Linked DNA regions of Homo sapiens: regions 1 and 3 are each linked to region 2. Evidence: promoter capture Hi-C in human tissues and cell types (Jung and others, 2019). All regions are on one chromosome and are shown on one strand. The core of a region is centred on a gene start or on the middle of the fragment in contact, and the rest is flanking DNA. Distances in the headings are between cores, read along the strand shown.

Region 1 (3,486 bases), core at 287-2,786, 990 kb before region 2:
GGGTGAGTTCCAGGCAACTCTTGTGGCCGCTGGGTCTTTTCTGTGGTTCTGTCACTTCCTTTGTAAGTGGATGTGACATGAGTCTTGAAGGGACAGATAAGAATACCTCTCACCAGGGTTTATCATTATTGGTTCACATCTGTCATATTCAGTAGAATATGTATTTTTTAAAGAAATTAGGTTTGTTTTGTATAAAGATTAGATGTATACAATAAAAATATTAAGTAATAATAAAAATCACGAAATAAAAAGGAAGAGAATCCCTCTACCTCTACACTATGAATCTTGCTTCCCAGAGGTAACCACCATTAATATTTTTTGGGTAGGGATTCTTCTGTGTGCATGTAGGCATAGGAAAATGATCACTCTTGTAATATCGATTTTTAAGGCTAAAAACCAGATAAATACATAATACTGTGATAAATAAGAAAAAAGTAAGGTGCTACAAATGTCTAACATAGCTGCTTGGGAAACTGACAAACTCAGTTTTAAATGGTATGTATAAGTGGTGAGGAAAATACGCTAAATGTATATGAGTGGTTCTGAGGAATAGTGAATGAGGAATCACTATTTTATAGTCATATTCTCTACTGGTGAAGTCATAGATAGTCATATTCTCTACAGGTGAATCAAGAGGGATTATCACATTTTGCAGTAATAATTTTACTTGCTCTGAAGCACCATTGAGAATGGATTGTTAAAGAGATAATTGGTGAGCCTTTACCTGTGAATGCTGTACTCATCAGGAACCAGCATGCACTTGCAGAAATAAATCAGGAATTAAGTTAGACTACCAGTGTTGTTTTTTTTAAAGGGTCTTTAGGTTGGTAGCTAAAGAAGAAATATAAATGGTGTTCCTCAAATTAATTGGGGGCTTGAAATGTGATATCATGATATTCTTGTGGACAAGATGGAGGTATACGTTCTAGATAGTATTGAAGTTGGAAGGACTTTTAGCTAACAGCAGTCAAGGAATGTTATAAACTAATCAACCTCAGCTGAAAGTGAGAGCAGCTCTATCCTAAGGTCTGTCTTATTATTTGCTTTATTTTGACTAATTTCTGGGAAAACATATACAATGTCTCTGGTACATAGTAGATGATCAGTAAAAATACTTGCTGAATAATGTGATGTGAAAATGAATGCAGGAAAAAGTGATCGAAGGATGACATGAATTTGGAAGGAACAACTAGCTAATAATCTGGGTGATGCAATTAGGAAACAAACTAACAAACAAAAAACCTCTTGGACAATGGCCCAGGTAGATCATCCACCTGCCGTGCAGTAGGTGAAAAGAATGAAAGTTCTCACCTGCTGCATTTGTTCTTTCATTTGATTTGTTCTTTCATGCAAATCTCAGCTTCTGAAGCAGAGAGAGCAGGCTGGATGGCTGCAAGTCCATTTCCTGAGCTTTTTTGTTCCCTGGCTGTATGCTGGTGCAACACTGCAATGAATTTGAAGGAAATTGCAGAGTTCCCCCAAATCCATCCTGTCTTGTCTGGTACTCCCAGAGAGCAATCATGGTTAGCCATTAAGACTGTATCACCTTTCTACCGAACAGTCTCTTCAAGAAACTGCTAACTTCTTGTGGCACCCAGTTTGATGACTGTAGGAAGGAGTCTCCAGCCCCTTGGCCTCTGGCTGCATTCCTGGAAAGACACTCTATCTCTTAGTTTTCTCTCCCCTCAATTTATTGTCAAACCATGCAAATGAGGCTTCCTTAACTATTTCTTGGACATCTTAAAATTAAAGTCTGCACATTAATAATTTGTTCAGCTTGTTGGTAAAAGTAGCATCAATATTATGAGATCATTGGTCTGGCCTGGGTTCTCTATTCAAATCTTCATTTCCAGGAGCTAAGGATGCCCGCCCTCCTCTTTTGAGTCCCACACCCATCCTCTCACATATTTATCTACTTCAATTAAGAGTGGGAAATTTGTTCAAGAGGAGACAGTCCTGGGGGACATGAAGGGAATTTTTTTGTCAGGGAGGCAATGTAAGGTCTGAACTATATGGTCATCTTGTTGAGAGCAGAGTCTCTGCTTGCTTCATTCTCCATCCTTTATATTCTTGTTACTTAAAGTGTAGTTCACCTCACCTGGGAGCTTGTTGGAATTGCAGAATCCCTCTGCTGAATCAGACTCTGCAGTTTAATCAGATCACCAGTGATGGTGATTTGCATGCACATTAACCTTCAGCAGCATGGGTCTGTATTACCCAACAAAGCGTGGTGAAGGAGGAAGTAGGCAGCTAACATTTATTGTGTGAGATGGCAGGAGAGAGAGGAAAGGAAGGGAAGAAAAAGGAAGGGGAAGGGAGGGTAGGGGAGAGGAGGAGAGGAGAGGGCAGGGAAGGGGGGGAGGAGGGGATGGGGAGGGAATGAAATAATATAAATTCACATGGGGAGAAAACAGTCTGAATTTGTGACAAGTATGACATAAAATTTTACTTAGTTTGCATATGGTAACACAAACCCATTGTTACAACTTTCTACTTTAGTAATAAAGTGAATATTGTGCACCTTAGGAGAAATTACTCACATATTTACATTTTACTTTCTTGCCTTGGAAAGGTATTTTTAAAATAGGTTAAATATTTCCATGGTTCTTTGATCAATATTTTAGAAAATGGATCATAAATAGAAGAAAAGTGAATTACTCCCTAGTTCAGGACACGTTATTAAAAAATCCAAGTTGGGCCAGGCACTGTGGCTCATGCCTATAATCCCAGCACTTCTGGAGGCTGAGGTGGGAAGATTGCTTGAGGTCAGGAGTTAAATACCAGACTGGGAAATATTTCGTAGAGACCCTATCTCTACAAAATAAATAAATAAATAAATAAATAAATAAATAAATAAATAAATAAAAATTAGCCAGGCATGGTGGTGTGAGCCTATAGTCCTAGTTACTTGGGAGGCTGAAGTGGGAGGATCATTTGAGCCCAGGAGTTTGAGGTTACAGTGAGCTATGATTGGGCCACCGTAGTCTAGCCTGGGTAATAGAGTGAGACCCTGTATGTTAAAAAAAAAAATCAAATTGTGGAGAACACTTGATCCATTCATAGAGTAAGCATGTTTCAAATAATATACAGTTGCTCTCATGAAGCTCATGGTCTAGGGTAAGGAAACAAATCTATAAACACTGTTCCCCCAAACAACATATTACAGTTACTATATTATATGCTATTAAAGGTAGGTACCGAAAGACAATTTACCTTTGCCAAGAGTGGGGAAGGGACTGGAGAGGACACCCCAGAGGATATAATTGCTGAGGTTCATCTTGAGGACTAGATTGGAGTTTGCCAGGTATTCAGTCACAAGACAGCAGTGTGTGCTAAGGTCATAGAGAGGACAACATGTCTTAGGGACTGAGGTGTGTGGTGTGGCTGAAACTCAGGCTTTGGGGAAACAAGAGGGGTGAAGGGACATGAGGTTGGTGAAGTGAACAGGAGCTAGATCAGAAGGGCCCTGAATGCTGGTCTAGGCAG
Region 2 (3,128 bases), core at 38-2,537:
AGTTTCTCGCACTTGACCTTGTAGGCGTCTCTCTCGCGGGCCAGCCGGGACACCTCCTGCTTAAGCTGCTCCACCTGCTGAATGAGCTGCGTCTTCTCATTCTCCAGGTGGTGCTTCTGCTGGACGCGTTTATACCTGCAAGACTGGGCGTAGCCCCGGTTCTTCAGGGTCCGCCGCTTCTGCTTCAGGCGGATCACCTCGTCCTTGGTGAAGCCCCGCAGGTGGCGGTTCAGCTCGCGCACGGACATGGACACGAGCTGGTCGTCGGAGAAGCGGTCCTCCACGCTGCCGTTGCCGCCCGCCGCCGTCGCCGAGGCCGTCGCGTGCGGCCCGGGCCCGGGGTGGCTAGTGGGCAGCTGTTGCGCCGGGCTAGCGGCGCTGGACGGCGGCGGCGACGCTTGGTGATGATGGTGATGGTGCGGGTGAGCGTGCGGGCCCAGCTCGTCGTGGGCCACGCCGGCGCCCGGGTACGCGTGGTGCGGGTGAGGGTGGTGGTGATGGTGGTGGTGGTGAGCGCCGCGAAAGCTGTCGAAGCTTTGCAGCGGCTGTGGCACTGGGTGCGAGCCGATGAGCGCTTCCACCGCGTCCTCGGGCGTCAGGTTGAGCGCCTCGGGGTTCATCTGCTGGTAGTTGCTCGCCATCCAGTACAGATCCTCGAGGTGTGTCTTCTGTTCGGTCGGGCTGAAGCTGGGCGACGAGGGCACGGAGCTACACGGAGTGCTGAGCGGTGTGGAGGACACCGAGCCGGCTGGCTGCAGGCGTGTGCAGGGCCTGCCCGGACGCTCCGCGCGCCCCAGTGGCTCCTTCTTCACGTCGAACTTGAGCAGGTCGAAGTCGTTGACATACTCCATGGCCAGCGGGCTGGTGGGCAGCTCTGGCCCCATGCTCAGCTCCGCGGCCATCGCTGAAGCGAGGCGCAGCCGCCGCTGCCGCCCGGGAAACTTTGCGGCCGGCCGGAGCGCGCCGAGCCAAGCGCGGGGGGGAAGAGCGGAGAAGAGCTGGGGAGGCGGGGAGCGAGGGCGCAGCGGGCCGGGGCCGCCGGCCAAGCCTTTGTCTGGGGACGCGGCGGCGCGCCGGAGAGTCCCGAGGCTGCCTGCACCGCCCCAGAGCTCTGGGCTGTGCCCGCGCAGGGACCGGGCCGGGTAGAGTCGGGCGGGGTGGAGAGGCAAGCGGAGCGCGCGGTGGGGCTGAGGGGAGGCGTGGGGCGAGTGCCCGTTGCTCGCTCTCTAGCTCTCTTGCTCTTACGCTCTCTCGCTCGCAGCCGCTCGCAGCTCGGCGGTGCAGCTGTGCTGGATCCGGCGGCGCCGCAGCCTTTTATCGCCTCCTGATGTCACTGGGGTGCGGGGGCCCGGGCGGCCCGGTGCGCGGGCCAATAGCTGCACGGCCTCCGCGGCCCAGCGGCGCAGGGCGGGGCGCGCCTGACAGCTCCCCCGCCCCCCGCGTCAGCTGACTGGCGGCCCGAGCGGCCCCGGAGCGGCGGAGGCCTGGCGGAGCGCTGGAGCGGAGTGGGACGGCCAGCCTGGGCCCACCCCCGTACCCTGCAGGTCCCGGCCCACGCACGCTCGCCTGGAGTGCGCGCCCCACCTCTAGGCCAAATCACCGCTTTCCCCTCCTCGCGCACTCTCCTCCCTCAGTTCCCTTTGCACCCCACCCCCATCCCGTGTCACCCCCAAGGAGGCTCAGAATGAGCGCCGGGACAACGCCTCCTGGGCCCTTTGTTCCCAAGCGGCCCCCGCCCAGTGGGCGACGCTCTGTGTGTCCTCGCGGCTTCTGGCCGTGTGTGTCGTGCGTTCCTGTTTCTGGAGATCTGCGCGTATTTGTATGTTGGGGAGGGCGGGCTCGAGGCTCCGAGAGTTGTGTTCAGACCCAACTCTTAACCTCAGGGGACCTTTCTCAGGCCAAGCGAGGGCCCCTCCTGGCGGGTGCAGTCGCAGAGCCCTGAGGTTCGACTCCACTGGCCCCGCCGCTCCCCGCGTTCACCCCACCGCACAATGTTCACAGTGAAGGCGACGGGAAAAGCAGCAGCCCAAAGGCTCTGAATTCCTCTTCCCCGCCACACGCACGGAATCCTGAGCCCCCGGAGCCTCGGGGCCGAGGCCGGCCCGGGACGGTGCTCCGAGTAGCTCTCCACTGCTGGGGAGCCGGCCCTGTTTTTGTTTGAACGTTTTGTAACGATTAAGCAGATCCCGGCGTCAGCCCGCCGCGGAGAGGCTCAAACAGGCATAAAGTGCGACCCCAAGTGGCCACTGTGCGCAAAGGCGCCGCGACCGCCCGGCCCACGGCCGGAAGGCTTGGACGGCGCCTCGTACCCAGCCAGGTCTCCCCTACCTGGCCCAACCCAAGCCAGCCCAGAACGCATACTATGTGTGCACCAGAGCCCAGGACAGGTTCCCCTCGAGCGATGTACAGGTCCTCGGGTCCCGTCTTCGTACTCAGCCGCGAGCCTCGAGCCGCGAGCTCCGCTCTGGTCGCCCCGTTGAAATTCCGTGCCCCAGCGTTCGGGGGTGCCCGTCGGCTGCTCCCTGGGCCGGAAGGTCCTGGGCGGAGGAAGGCCGGTAGCCAAAAGTGGAAGCGCCACAGTGAAGCGGCCCAGGGCCACCGGGTGAGAAACCTCCCCGGAGGGCAGACGGGGAGACCGAAGCACACCGCACTAGGCATCCAGACTGGGCTTGGGAGCCGCGCACCCTCCCTACCCAGATCCAGGATGGCTAGAATTAACGGGTTCTTTCTGAGACCTCGGCTCAGGCGCCGAAACCGGATAGATCGCGAATTCGCTGGACCCGGAGACCCGACCCGCCTCCCGCGTCACCTTCTTCTTTCTAGCTTTGGGCGCGCGCAGCGAAAGGCAGGAGAGGCGCGCACTGGGTGAGTGAGTCCCGGCCGCTGTCTGCGCTGGACCAGCCCGACTGACCTCGCGCGTAGGGGTCGCGTGAGCCACACCGGTGCAGACGCGCCTAGATTATTTTTAAATGTTAGAAGGTAAAATATTTGCCTCCAATTAATCTGAAAACTCTCTATTCTCTTGCGCCCTCGGAGAGGCTGGGGTACGGCGTGGTATTGGGCCGCCTATTTTTAATAAAATGAGTGTATTTTAACTAAAACTTAACTCAATCTTGTGGGGTGGCAAA
Region 3 (3,243 bases), core at 693-3,192, 930 kb before region 2:
TCTGCTAGTTGAGGAAGACTAGAAGAAGGCTTTCTGCTTCCTGTTTCTTTCTGCCTCTTGTTCTTTTAACGATGTCCTAAGCAACGGCTAACAGTACTCACCCTAACAGTAGTAGTTCTTTCCTGTCTCAGCAGCTGAATCCAGCTGGGTTTTTTAAAATGACACTTACAGAACTAGTGCCATAACCCCCGTCCCCCAATCAGCATGGGCCAGTTTAGACCCCTCCTCAGTTGTTTGAGCCTCAGCTCCAAGGTGTCCCTTCTGTAAGGGTCTAAGTATTCATAATTAAAATCTCTTTCGTTTGTTCACACAGCTGTGGGGTGGTAGCTATTTACTACAGGTGCTACTTTTGGATACCACAGGGTGTTATCTTTGTCATTTCAGTTCCTCAACACAGCTCTTTATATTAAATTTTCTGTTAAAAGAATACATGCAGTTCTTTCTGACTCCTGATTATACCTGTCCAATATACTCCATTCATTCTCCCCACTCCCTAGGCCAACAATCTGAGTGGTAAAGCAGAAAGTGATTTGAATGAGATCATATAAAGGATTCCAGCATTATCTCAGTCACTGTTTCTGGGCTAAACTGAGCTGTCTCTGTTCTCAGCTCTCAGAGTGAGCTCTTCTCAGTCGCTAGGAAGTTAAGGCCTAAGAAGACGAGCCTCCATGGAACAGACCTACCACCAGCCTACCCCTGCTGGCTTTTCCTGGTTTGTTTAGTCATGAATACATTGATCTGAATTTGTCACATTTATTCTTCTCACTTGGAATCTTGTATCTACTACCTTGACAAAATCATGGAAAGAGACCATGACCACATTTTTATTATCTGATTGTCTTCCTGGAAATAAAGAGTTGCGACTGTCACTGGCTGGCAACTATAATTGTTAAACCTAACTGAAGAATTGAAGTCTACTACATTCAGGAGTGTTTGGATCCTAGACCCTGATTTTGGCTTTCAATTCATGTCTTTCTGCACTGGCACATTTTTGCATATGTATACATGTTCATGTGTTGTAGGTCCTTCTGTGTCCATATATGCACACTTGCATGTACAGGAACAGGTGCCACTGTGTAGGCATGTGTGTGATGTGTGCATGTGTGAATATGTGTGTGTGTGAATGTGCTTAGGATAGACAAGACCATTTTCATACACAAGACTATTTTCACCACTATATCTCTAGTATCTCACATAGGGTCTGTGCTAATGGATACTCAAACATAGTTATTGAATGAATGAATGGATGCATGAAAGAATGAGTGTTAATGCTAACACAAAAAGGAATGAAATCTGTTCATTTCTTTATTTAAGGTGGGCCCATCTAGATCAGCTCTATTTAATAGACATATAATGCAAGTCACATAAGTAATTTTAAATTTTCTAGTAACCACATTGAGGAAAATAAAAAGAAATAGAATAAATTAATTTTAAAAATATTTTTATATAATCAATATGTCCAAAGCGTCATTATTTCAGAATAATGAATATAAAATAAATACCAATGAGATATTTGCATTTTTAAAAGCCTTTGAAATTCAGTATATATTTTACTCTCATAGCACATCTAAGTTAGGAGTAGCCACATTTCATGGACTCAATAGTCCCATGTGGCTCAAAATTGCAGTTTTAGTCAGTTTAAGTCTTGTTAATATCCTTTGGACAATGGAGGAATGGAGGATATTTTCTATTTTCTATTCTTCAAAGTTTAGAATAAGGAGTCTTTGGAATCCAGGATACTTTCTGGATTGGAGAAACGTTGGTTGAGAATGTGAATCTCTGATAACCCTTAATTGCTGCAAAAGTTACATGGTTCAGCTCACATGTCTTTCTCTGTCCTCCCACTCCAGTGTTCTGGAGGGGAACCAAACTAGGGCCCTATTCTGAAACCTGTTTTCCTTTCCTAAAATCTGAGCCCCTTTGCTGGAAATGTGTCTCTCTCTCTGGAACCTGATCCCATTCCGGAAACCTGTATCTTTTTCTGGAACTGGCTACAACTATCTCTTTCCTCTTCAAGCTCAGCCATGAAGAAATTTTTTAAAAATAAAGAATACAAACACACACTAATAACAAGAAAGCATGTGTTATCTTCTCTCTCGTATCCTGCATCTTCAATGTCTTTGTATTAGATCAGATATTGCTCAAAATACAGGAGCCTGAAATTTCTACCCACCCTTTTTTTTTGAGCCAGAAATTCCCTAGATTCACAATGTCATCATCCACCCCTATCAATACCCCATTTTATGGCTGTGACGGTGGTAGAAATTCACATGGCCTTAGTGGAAAGCCCTGTGTCTCCCCTTCCCCCTGCCTCATCTTCTCTGTTATTAGGTACAACAGAATCTCAGAGATGGCTCCATTGGCTTCAGACCTTCTGCCCATTACATTACATACAATGTCTTTTTAAATTTTCTAAAATGGAGTAATTTTTAACAAGCGGGTGGTGGGGAGTACTTCCCATATTTTTCATTAACGTATACTGTTAACTATGCCAGTAAATTATGGATAATTTAATTTAATTTAGGCTTAATGGCAACATTTTTCCTCACTAATGAAATGGTTATTTGTTATTAGGAAAATATTTATTGAAGTGGAATTGTGTGATCTCTCACATCATTATTAAACCTTGTTAAACCATTTTTTAATTTCAATTTGGGTTTAATTAAGAGTCATTAAGCATTTTATTGAATCTAAATTAAATTCTAATGGAAATGGGATTTGCCAAAGAGACAGTTGTGCCCTTTCTTCACTCTCAGTTCTCTCAAAGTGACATAGTTACAAAAGGACTTGGGGTGAAGTGGAACTCCAATATTATTGATAAAATGGAAAGAACAAAGGCTTTGTTTCAGATTGATCATAGTTCTAATACCAGAACTGCTTCTGACATACCATGAGACCTTGGGCAAGTCATATCATTTTTGTGATAATCACCTTACTCTTCTGTAAGATGAGGACTGTAATAGAGTGTCTGTGGAAACAAAAGGACAAAAATTATATACCAAATGGATATTTTAAGCTTCTTTTTTTGTCTGAGGTATCTACAATTCCTTAGGAAATGGAATTTAAAAAAAAAAAGTTTGTTGAAGGAAAAAAAAAAAAGGAAACCGATGTGACTAAAAAAATGCCAATGTACATCGAGTTGTCTATCTGAAGCCTGAATTCCCAAAGAGGATGTAACTGGAGCAAAGACAAGGGAGTAAATTAGAGTTTAATGAGCCTGAACTTGGAAAAGGCTAGACCAAG

What was found. Contacts are between HindIII fragments. The study calls those that stand out against the background at their distance.
Region 1: a contact is called between a fragment that was not itself captured here and the fragment with the promoter of MAFB in region 2, in 1 of the 25 tissues and cell types used here (lymphoblastoid cells).
Region 3: a fragment that was not itself captured here is called in contact with the fragment with the promoter of MAFB in region 2 in 1 of the 25 tissues and cell types used here (dorsolateral prefrontal cortex).

The regions. Positions count from the first base shown.
Region 1 is chr20:39,700,714-39,704,199 of GRCh38, forward strand. No RefSeq gene overlaps it. Among named protein-coding and RNA genes, the nearest start is that of LINC01370, 300 kb to the right of the region's middle. The HindIII fragment of the contact is 4,850 bases long and covers 1-3,486 here.
Region 2 is chr20:40,687,949-40,691,076 of GRCh38, forward strand. It overlaps MAFB (MAF bZIP transcription factor B), which reads right to left and starts at 1,288. Exons shown (of 1, transcript NM_005461.5): 1 at 1-1,288. The coding sequence starts at 902. RefSeq lists silencers at 1,151-1,220, 1,241-1,550 and enhancers at 1,501-2,478, 2,479-3,128. The HindIII fragment of the contact is 9,965 bases long and covers 1-3,128 here.
Region 3 is chr20:39,752,349-39,755,591 of GRCh38, forward strand. No RefSeq gene overlaps it. Among named protein-coding and RNA genes, the nearest start is that of LINC01370, 250 kb to the right of the region's middle. The HindIII fragment of the contact is 7,038 bases long and covers 1-3,243 here.